Linked DNA regions of Homo sapiens: all the other regions are linked to region 1. The links are contacts of gene promoters, found by promoter capture Hi-C in human tissues and cell types (Jung and others, 2019). All regions are on one chromosome and are shown on one strand. The core of a region is centred on a gene start or on the middle of the fragment in contact, and the rest is flanking DNA. Distances in the headings are between cores, read along the strand shown.

Region 1 (2,700 bases), core at 197-2,696:
GTTCGTCTTTCTCCTCGCCCAAGGTAAGGACCTCGGGAATCTGAAGCCTGGCGTCCACTACGCTCAGGCCCGCAGTTCCCTTTTTACAGAGCTTGCACCATGGGAAAAAATAAAATAAAATTTAGGAAAGGGAGGCAACAGCCATTGGGAGCCAACACAGAGTCACGCAGCGCCCAAAATACAAACACCGCAGCGGCCAGAAATCCCGCCACCTTTCTCGTTCTCCCAGGCTGTCCTGTCGAGGTTCCCTGAGTCCCCCCGCACACTGAAAGGCATCGCAGGTGCAGTGCGCACCCCTTTCCCACCCACCCCAAGAAGCCCTGTCCCGCCATCAGTCTCTCTCCTCGGGATGAGCAGGGAGAGCGCGCGGAGGTTCCCGACTCCCTCGACTACAACCAAGAAAGAATAATTTTCAAAGTGTTCAACATCCCCGCCCCCAAGCTCCCCAAAACACAGGGGCAGGGAACACCAAAACACTCGGCTCTCATTAGGAAGATCACGGCTCTGAAAGGAAATAGTAGACACGATACTTCATCTCATCTGGATTTATGACCAAAAAAACAAAAACAAAAACCCAAAGAGTTCGCTTGCATTTTTTCCTTCCAAATCTCGGTTCGGCTCGAAGGCAGGGAATCTAAAAGACCGAGGCCGATGGAAGAGAGCCAGCGGGGCGAGCGAGCGGGCAGCCTCCCTTTTTGCCTCCCGGAGTTACCCAGAAGGACAGGGGAAGGGAAGGAAGAAGAGGCGAGGAAAAAGAGGAGGGAGGGAAGCGGAGGCCAGGAGCGACGGAGCAAGGAAAGCAGTTTGCAAGCGAGAAAAGAGGGAAAAAACACAGCCGCACGAATCCAGAGAGATCACAAGCCGTACGCAAGCAGCAGCAGAAAGAGCGAGAGCGCGAGCGCGCGTCCTCTCCGCGGTCTGGGGCCAGACAGCCCCCAGACTAGCCCGAATCACCCCCCAAGCACTGTCTCGTCCTCTCTGCTCCGGCCGCCCCCTAATTCCCCTCCTTCCTCTCCTCCACCTCCTTTCCAAAAACCAAAACAACACAAGGGAGGGTGGCAAAAGCCTCCCCAAACCGGCCGATTCACTCAAAGACAACAATAATAATAATAAATACATAACAATCTATATCCTATGGTGGGAGAGACGTGGGACTAATCTTCGGCATTTATTTTAACACCTGACAGCTAGAATAAATAAATATATACATTTATATCAATAGATACACATAGAAAACTTGGAGCCAAAGCATTTGGCAAGAGCGGAAAAAAAAAGAATTAAAAGGTAAAATAATGATCATGAGCAGCGGCGGCGGCAGCGGCACCAGCGGCAACAGCGGCGGCGGCGGCAGTAGCAGCAGCAGCGGCGGCAGCAACAGCAATAATCACCTGGTGTCCGGCCTTTCCTAGAAACTTCTTGCATCACCACTTCTAAGAACCCCAGTTCTAAGAATCAACAGAGCTCAATTCTCGGAATTTGAGCTTCGGACTTTACCACTGCTACGTGGCAGGGGAGGACTTGGTGTCAGCTCTCCGAGATTTTTACTGCCCCTGGCCAACCAAAAGCCCTCAAAGCCACAAGATTTTTTCACTGGCCGGCATATTTCGAGGTCCTCATAAGCAGAGCGTCTCGGATTTGGAGGTTCCGGTTCGAGGCTCGAGGGGCCTGAAGGTGGCTCTCCCTCCCCGGGCCCAAGACGATGGTATGGCCTGCTCCGCCACCATCACGTGGGCTCCTCCTCTGTGACGTCGGCGCCTTCGCTGTAGCAAAGCTCGGCCTCTGGAATTCTGAGAACTAATTTGCTATTCGGTGACATAAGAGGGGGAGTGCGCTTTGCTTTCCCGGGGTCTGGGGCTAATTCCTTCTTTCTTACCCATAAACTCAGCAGATCGAGCTAAATGCACAAAAGGGAGCGAGAGGTTTGAACCACTGGGAAAAGTATGTTATATATATAGTAGGGTTAGAGAGGCGAGTAAGAGAAAAATAAAATAAAATAAACATCACAGCTCTTTCCAACTAGAATATTAGGCACCACGAGAAAAATATTTGCCAAGCAGTTTTCGGTGGGTTCATTTGCTTTATTTTTATTTAGGACAGGGGTTTTTGCTGTTGTTCTGGGTTTTTTTCTTTCTGGTGTGGTGGCTTGGGATTTTTGGTTTCTGTATTTTGATGGTTTATGGATTTTTGCTTCTGATTTTTTGCCTTTTGCAAGTTTGTGGTGTTACGTAAATCACAGGATCGGCATCGGTTGGATTTTTTTGTACGTGCCTTTTCTTTCCCTATCTAATCCCTCAAGCGTTTTAAAGATGTATTATTTCAATACTAATACTATTGAAAGAAGCTTAAATTTTTGGCCATATGTAACAATCCCAGCCCCCACTTTTTTTTTTTTTTTTTCCTTTGGTGCAATTTTCTTTTTCCCCCTTGGACTTTTGCTGAAGTGTGTCTCTCCTGCACTTCAGAGAAATGTTCAAAGGATTTGTTTTGGTTTGGTTTGTTTCTTTCCAGGACAGCAAGTGGTGGGTTTAATCTGTTATTGTTGACTCTTGGGAAATTTCTTGTTGCAAGAAACGTGTGTGTGGGGGGGAGGGTGGGGGTGGCGGGGTGGTATGTGTGTGTTTTCTACAAAATTCTGTGAGCCAAATACCTGTTTGTGTTTTGTTTTCTCTTAAGGTCTTGAGATTTTTGTTTTCGAGGCTC
Region 2 (2,838 bases), core at 215-2,714, 1.1 Mb after region 1:
ATGTAAACATGTATCTTTTTCTATTGTTGTTAATACTGATTTATCACAGATTAATACAATTACAGAGTTTGAATTAATCATTTTTCAAATGAGAAAACTGAGATCGAAGGAATAAATTATTTACCCAATGTCATACAGCAGATTTTGACAAAGCCAGAAGGATAATTCATATTCTTCACCTAGCAACTTTCCTTTTTCATGGCCACATAATGAATTCCTTAGCTCCCTCTCTGCATTATTAGGAGTCAGGTAACTGGGGTACCAGTCCCACCTCTGCATCTCATGCTCTCCACAACTCAGGTCCAGCACATCCATTCTCAAAGTCTGCCTGCTCACCTGTGGAATGAGAGTCTGGACTAAGGGAACTCCCAGCCCCCTCCTCCTGACACTGTGAGTTTTTCCTTTCTCGAAGGCTACTGGTAGGCCCCACTGGAGACTGAAAGGGGAAGATTGCAGTAAAAGGCGCAGGCTGTCGAAGGATAACATGTCCTTCTACATCATTCACTAGCCTAGGATGCCAGTCAACTTCATTCTTGGAACCTTTATTTTCCAATTTGCGGGCATTTTGCAATAGGCTGATTTTAATCACATTTTATACTTTTTTTCCTTTGTTGCAGAAATGTTTGTATTACCTGTTCTTTGAATGCAGCATCTGTAGACCACAAGGTCTTTCCATAGGAACTAAGCCTGTTATATTGCTGCTAGTTTTGAGTAAATGAGCTGAATCTTGCAGCCAAGCCTCAGTGCAAACAAAAACATTTTCTGGCCAAACATTTTCTGGTTATTCAACTCCATTACAGGGCTGACTAAAAAAAAAAAAAAAAAAGTAAAAACCCACAGAGGAGCAAAACACAAGTCCTGGGAAGACAATTTCCAGCCACATTAGCTCACATTGTCAGGGTAGAAAAGAAACAGGCCCTCATTCTTCAAACCATCATCATCTCCAAACTCTTACCCTGTGCTCTTCTGCTATTTTAATTTCACCACTTCAAAATGGGAAAAACAAATAGGTTAATAGTTTCCATGCGTTTAGACTGTGACCAGAGGCATACGAAGCAATTTCAGAACCTCAGGCAACCACAGCTTTGAGGGAAGGATGATGATGGATTTACCAATTCATCTTGGGATGGATTCCAGAGTTAAGGGAGTCAGGCCAGCACTGTGCTGCCAGAGTGGGATATAAACAATATTCATTCGTTCATTCTTTTTGTACACATTCATCTCAGGCTTATTTCTATTTCAGACAGTATACTGGGTGCATTATAGGACAGAGAAATACATTCTTAAGACATAGTCTCTGCCCCTAATGAAATTAAAGTCTGGTAGAGGAAATAGACATAAGCACAAATAATTTAAATAAAGTGCACACTGAAAGTATTGTAAGCAAACCAAATAAAGTGCTCAGGAATGGGAGAGAAAGAAGCAATTCATTCCAAGTGGGACCATTGAGGAAGGCTTCACTGGGGAATGGCCTTCTAGCCTGTACCCTGAAAGGTCAAAATGGCAAATTGCGATACATCTAGGCATTAGCCAAGGCACAGAAGTATGGGAGTTTCACATAGGTTTGAACAAGAGTGAGTGGTCTGAGATGTTATGAGAACCATAAAGGGGGGTTGGATACCATGTAAAGAATAAGCTCTTTTTACATTGTGAAGCCATTAAGATTTTATTATCCAGAAAGGTACTTGTATTTGATCACATCTGTGTTTGGAAAGAAAACTGGAAGTCATTGGAGACAGGGGCAAGGGGAGTATTATAAGAAGAGAGATACAAAGAAGCCAAATCATAGGTCATTGCTATAGGTTAGACATAAGGACACTAGTTACCTACGTACAGACACTTCTTGCTTCATAGCCATTTATATATCCTCATGGTAAAAGAGCAGCTACCCCTGAATTTCCACATCCCATTCAGTTCTGCATCTTTCTAATAAGATCCACATCCCGGGTTTATTCCTGATTGTAAACTCAATGAGTTAATCCAGATACCTCAGTTGTAATATAGCATTTTACATGTGAAACGTGGTTGTTTGCTAAGAGCATGGAATTAAAGGGCAGGATGGAAAGTTAACAGCCGATCTTTCTGAGACCTGACTCACTAACTGGTGTCTCTTTTAAGGGGTGCTATATATTTTTAAAGCTTAGAATATTTTTAAGGCCAGATAAATGTGTTTCTTAATTCACTTTTTCAAACCAGCTCCCTTCTACATTCAACATTTCTGTCAAGAGTTTGCAAACTCTAAACTTGGAGATGGTGTGTAAATCAAAGCTTTAAATGATCAGAAGCCTAATTGATTATGCTGAGTTCTGATTTGGGTTCTGCATTTAGCATGCTCTGTCTCAGTCATCTGACAGGCTATTCTGTAAAAAGTAGGGGTCTTAGTGATCGCACTATGGTCTAAGTGGTCACACTATGTCTTTGATAATGAATCAAGTTTTAGAAGTAATAGTGAAGCATTCCTCAATCGGTGAACCAGAGTGGTATAGTTCAAGGGTCAACAAACTATGCCCATGGGTCAAATCCAGCCCATTGTCTGTTTTTTTTTTGTAAATAAAGTATTACTGGAACACAAGCATGCCCATATGCTTGCATGCTATGACTGCTTTCCAGCTATAATAGCAAAGTTGACTTGTTACAACAAAGCCAGAAATATTTACTATATGGGACTTTAGAGAAAAGTTTGCCATCACCCATGCTGTAGGAAACAAGGGAAGGAACAAGGATAGCAGTCAGAAAACACATGTCCTCAGTTCTGGACTTGCCACCTACTACCTGAGTAATACTAGAAAAGCCACTTGACCCATCTAATTGTGTTTCCTTCTCTCTATAACACACTTC
Region 3 (2,700 bases), core at 70-2,569, 1.1 Mb after region 1:
TATAGAAGATTTTAACATTATTAAAAGGCTTGATTTTAATGGATATATAAGAATCTCCATACTTATTGGATAAAAAATAAGCTTTTAAAATATATACATTATATATATATATACATTATATATATATACATTATATATATATATATACATCATATATATATATATAAAGTGCATATGAGAAATCTACTAAAACTGACCTTCTAGGCCAATTATCTGCAAAATTCAAAGCATCTTTCACACAAATTGAATATTTTCATCATGTCAACATTTAACGCAAATTAAAAACCATGGGTAATTTTAAAAATTTACATTTGGAAATTTTAAAACATCCCTAAAATGGCTTACTTCAAAATAGAAATCATAATCATAAGAACTGAACAATAATGAAAATTCTATGTAGTAAAACTTGTAGGAGTCAGCTCAAATGGTTCCAAGAGGGAAATGTAAATCCTTAAATGATTACATTAAAAATAAAGTGAAAATTAATGAGCTACTCATCCAACTCACGTTAGTAAAAGAACAGAATTAAGATTCAAAATATAAGGAGGGCATAATTAAAATATGAAAAAAATGAAACTAATGGTATAGAAAACAAGAATATAATAGAATATCAAAACAGTCAAAATTTGGCACTTTGAAAAAGCGTTAGAAATTGCAAATTTCTGGGAAGGTTTATCAAGAAAAAAAGGCATGAAAAATATTTATAGATAACAGCAGGTATTAGAAACATAACAGAATAGCATGAGCAATTTCATGTGATTAATTTGAAAATGTAGATGAAATAAAAATGTTCCTCTTTAAAAATTGTAACCTAACAAAAAGTGAGTAAAAAAAAATAGACAACATGAATAACCCAATAAAGTTAAATTGTATTAGTGGTTAAAATATTCCCAATAAATAATTACTTGAAGGGAGCATGAGAATGGCTTTTGGGTTAACATTTTAGGTTGGTAACATTCTGCTTCACGATCTGAGTGCTGGTTATATGATTGTGTTTAGTGTTTGAAAATGTATTGAGCAATACATTTATGATTTGTGCATTTTATTTATATACTACTTCAGTGGATAAAATATTTTCTTTATCGAAAACTACCTAGTATCTTGATTCTAAATGTGAATTCTACTGGTTGTTCAAGTTAGAATTACAATGGAAAAAAAAAGGGAACACTCTCCAACATAATCTATAAGGCAAGTGGCCAATCTTATTAGTGAATATATCGATTAAAATCTTATAAACTACTGGAAAACCAAGCACAGTAATGAAGAAAACAACGACAACAACAAAGCTCAAATAAGTTGGGTGTAACCCTGAAATAGAAGAGTAGTTGAACATTAGAAAGTCTATTAACATGGCCCGGAGCCGTGGCTCACACCTGTAATCCCAGCAGTTTGGGAGGTTGAGGTGGGCAATCACTTGAGGTCAGGAGTTGGAAACCAGCGTGGCCAACATGGTGAAACCCCGTCTCTACTAAAAAATACAAAAATTAGCCAGGCGTGATGGTGGGTGCCTGTAATCCCAGCTACTCGAGAGACTAAGGCAGGGGCATCTCTAGACCCTGGGGGGCCAAGGTTACAGTGAGCGGAACCACATTCACAGAACAAAATAGAGAGGCCTTATGATTGGCTGAGCGTGGTGGCTCATGCTTGTAATCCCAGCACTTTGGGAGGCCGAGGTGGGTGGGTCACTTGAGGTCAGGAGTTCGAGACCAGCCTGGGCAATATGGTGAAACCTCATCTCTACTAAAAATACAAAAATTAGCTGGGCATGGTGGCAGGCGCTTGTAATCCCAGCTACTCAGGAGGCTGAGGCAGGAGAATCGCTTGAACCCTGCAGGTGGAGTTTGCAGTAAGCCAAGATTGTGCCATTGCACTCCAGCCTGGGTGAGAGAGTGAGACTCTGTTTTTGTTTCTTTGTTTGTTTGTTTTAAAAGAAAGGTCTTTTGATTAAATTATTTAATAGATTTTTAAAAACAGTATAATAAAAGAAAACATTTATGTTTTAAAAAAACACACAGCAGGAGTGGAAAGGACTTTCTTAACTGGATAAAGGCTATCTATGCAAAAATCACTCCAAATAGTGAAACGTTAAAAGTAATTATTTTAAGTCTAAAATAAGAGAAAGATGCTCACTATCTTTCTTTTATTGATAGGCCCCTTCTATTCAATTTTGTAATGAAGACTCTAGTCAGTGCAGCTATATTAAAAACATGAATTTTATATATATATATATATAAAGACTATAAAAAGCCAAACTGCCACCTATGATATAGCTATATAGCAAACTATATAGAAACTCAAAGTAATATGTAAAAAATTCACATTTAAAAGTTTATCACCAGGTGTGGTGGCTCATGCCTGTAATCCCAGCACTTTGGGAGTCTGAGGTAAGTGGATCACCTGAGGTCAGGAATTTGAGAGCAGTCTGGCCAACATGGTGAAACCCCATCTCTACTAAAATAAAAAATTAGCCTGACGTGGTGGCAGGCGCCTGTAGTCCCAGCTACTCGGGAGGCTGAGGCAGGAGAATCACTTGAACCCGGGAGGCAGAGGTTGCAGTGAGCCGAGATTGCACCACTGCACTCCAGCCTGGGGGACAACAGCGAGACTCCGTATCAAAACAAAACAAAACAGAAAAGTTTATCAAGTTTGGTAGATATAACATTAATGCACCAAAAAATTCATTAATAGCAAAAAAAAAAA
Region 4 (2,759 bases), core at 28-2,527, 1.3 Mb after region 1:
GACTGTAAAAGCAAGGTTTATTGTTAAGATAAATAATAAATTATGATTGCTTGAGTTTTTATACAGTTCTTTGTTTTCCCTGAAGTCAATAGTTGCCTTGTTTATTAATTTTTCTTATTTTTAAATACATATAACTAATTTGTTTCCAGATGTTCTGTTTTATAAAATACTCTGCATTATTATTTTATACACAACCAAATGCACTAAATCATCCATCAAGTGCATGTAGCAATTGGTACCCAACTGTTAGTTATATATCCAACATCCATTGTCCTTTTTTCTTTTACTAATGGGAGCCGCATACAAGCTTAAGGTAACAATATGTCCAGCTTTAGAAATCATTTCCTAGCCTTTCTTGCAGCAAATATGTCCATAAGATACAGCCTTCTAAAGAAGATGTAAATAGCTGTCTACTGGGGTTTAGGGACAGGTCCTTTCCTGTTAAAGGCATTGCCTATTTCTCCTTATTACCACCACCATCACATCCTCTTCTTCATCCTCCTTCTCCTTGTTTTTCCCCTCCTTTTCTGCTCTGTCTTCTTCCTTCTTGTCTGAATATACTGATTTTAGGTGAGGGGTTGAGCAGCCTTTACATCACATGAGGAAACTGTAAGAATAAAGATATAAGGAGCAGGATTTTAGAGACAGTAATGGCAATGCAAAAACAGTCCAGCACTTTTCATCTGTGGATCTCTGCTTAAATGTTGGAAAATATCTTTTTAATTTAATGACTTTGGTAAGGCTTATAAAATATCCAGCCAAATACAACCCTAACTGATACCAATGACGTTTCCAATCAGTGTATTTCTCAATAAATTATGTTGATACATGTGTCTAGCTGTGTGGGAAAAAAGGAAGTGAAATCTTTTCTTTTTACACCAAAATTAATTCTGTAGGAACGAATAATATCAATGTAAAAAATGAGAGAAACCATTGAAATTTTAGAAAAACCTACATTTTATAAAATATAATCTTCCATTGTGGAAGGTTTGTCTAAGTATTACTGAAACCACCAAGATAAAATGATCACTAAATATAACCAAATAGCAATTAAAATTTTCTATGCAGATGTCTTAATGAGGCAAGTAATTAATTGCTAAGAAAATTATGACCATACTAAAGCAGAGAGCTAATATCCTTAATATATAAAGAGCTGTTCAATAGCAACAAGAAAAATGTATCGAAGTTAAAGAAAAATTGTCAAAGGAAACAGACAATTCCAAGAAAAAAGAAAAGCATCTGTGGAAAGCCTCTCACAAAACAGACTAAATAAATAAAATACAATAACAAATAAAAATAATTAAAGTAGATATAATGAAAGAAGCCAATTAAAATTATAAACAATATCCTCAGAGAGATATAAAAATATAGAATATTCTGGAAATAAGAATATGATGTTTCATATCTTTAAAAACCAAACAAGAAACAAGAACAACTGGAGAATAAAAAAGAGCTTTGGGAGATTAAAAATATGTAATAAAAAGGTCTGAAGAATGGCTGGAATACAGACATAACCGGGAAATTAAAATAAAAAAGACAAAGGACATAGTTAATAGAATAAAGAAGAAAATTGAAAGACTAAACCATATCCTCAAAGAGTCAACTATCAGGAGCTCTGGAAATAAAGACCAGAGTAAACAGTGAAGAAGAAATTACCCAATCAATGATTGAAAAAAAATTCCCAGATCCAAAGGACCTGATTTTTCAGGTTGAAGATGTACATGTCATGGCTATCATAAGAAGTGAAAAAAAGACCAAGAATACTGTGGACAGAGAGAAGTTTTCTAAAAGCTACTAGGAGAGAAGATGCCATATACAAAAAGATCAGAAATAAAAATGGCATCTCCATCTATTTGTATTTTACTTTAACGTTTAATCTGGAAAATATGTTGAAATTAATTAAATATGTTTTCTACTGAAATTGAGTCTTAAACTGTGAGATACCTCTTAGCTATGAGCAACATGACTACAAGAGGGACTTGGTGCTAGAGGGTAGGTACACTGGCACAAACTATTTTCCTTGCTGGAAAAACAACTCAAAGCAAGTGAGGTTCGTCAGTGCCAGTTCGAAGTGCTTTCTTTCTTTCTCTTTTTTTTTTTTTTTTTCTGAGTCTCACTCTGTCACCCAGGTTGGAGTGCAGTGGTGCGATCTTGGCTCACTGAAACCTCTGCCTCCCAGGTTCAAGTGAATCTCCTCCCTCAGCCTCCTGAGTAGCTGGGATTACAGGCGCGTGCCACCATACCTGGCTAATTTTTTATATTTTTAGCAGAGACAGCGTTTCACCAAATTGGTCAGACTGGTCTCGAACTCCTGACCTCGTGATCCACCAGCCTCAACCTACCAAAGTGGTGGGATTACAGGCATGAGCCGCTGCACCCGGCCAGAAGTGCTTTTTAAATTCATGTCATTTATGTTTTCTTCTCTCTCTCCCTCCTTCTATGCATTTTTTTCTTTAGCAAACATTTTCAAGATTTGACATAGGTAGAATAATTTCTAAGCTGAGAAGCATCCATTCTATTGCCTTATGTGTCACTTTTCCCCTGGGGCTCTCACTGTAATCGCTGGCTCCATCAGATGGTCCTCTTTAAATACTCTCTTACTTTCTGTACAGTTCAGAAAATCTTTCCTCAGATTTTTAAATACATCAAACTCTGAGGAAAGCTATAGGAAAATGTTTTTCTTATGAAGTACAGTGTAACGTTTTGATCTTCTAGAGTGATCAGTTGTTCCAGTTTGCCAGAGGCTGAGAGGGTTACTG

Evidence for each region. Contacts are between HindIII fragments. The study calls those that stand out against the background at their distance.
Region 2: a fragment that was not itself captured here is called in contact with the fragment with the promoter of BCL6 in region 1 in 7 of the 25 tissues and cell types used here (H1 embryonic stem cells, adrenal gland, aorta and 4 more).
Region 3: a fragment that was not itself captured here is called in contact with the fragment with the promoter of BCL6 in region 1 in 1 of the 25 tissues and cell types used here (lymphoblastoid cells).
Region 4: a fragment that was not itself captured here is called in contact with the fragment with the promoter of BCL6 in region 1 in 2 of the 25 tissues and cell types used here (lymphoblastoid cells and thymus).

Annotation. Positions count from the first base shown.
Region 1 is chr3:187,744,022-187,746,721 of GRCh38, forward strand. It overlaps BCL6 (BCL6 transcription repressor), which reads right to left and starts at 1,447. Exons shown (of 10, transcript NM_001706.5): 1 at 1,389-1,447. BCL6-AS1 (BCL6 antisense RNA 1) reads left to right here. Exons shown (of 2, transcript NR_173091.1): 1 at 1-23; 2 at 1,223-2,005. RefSeq lists an enhancer at 560-1,085. The HindIII fragment of the contact is 4,851 bases long and covers 1-2,700 here.
Region 2 is chr3:188,863,148-188,865,985 of GRCh38, forward strand. All of the region lies in intron 9 of LPP (LIM domain containing preferred translocation partner in lipoma), which reads left to right. Among named protein-coding and RNA genes, the nearest start is that of TPRG1-AS1, 83 kb to the right of the region's middle. The HindIII fragment of the contact is 3,969 bases long and covers 1-2,838 here.
Region 3 is chr3:188,892,938-188,895,637 of GRCh38, forward strand. No RefSeq gene overlaps it. Among named protein-coding and RNA genes, the nearest start is that of TPRG1-AS1, 53 kb to the right of the region's middle. The HindIII fragment of the contact is 6,568 bases long and covers 1-2,700 here.
Region 4 is chr3:188,994,798-188,997,556 of GRCh38, forward strand. It overlaps a transcript of TPRG1 not described here. Among named protein-coding and RNA genes, the nearest start is that of TPRG1-AS1, 49 kb to the left of the region's middle. The HindIII fragment of the contact is 7,765 bases long and covers 1-2,759 here.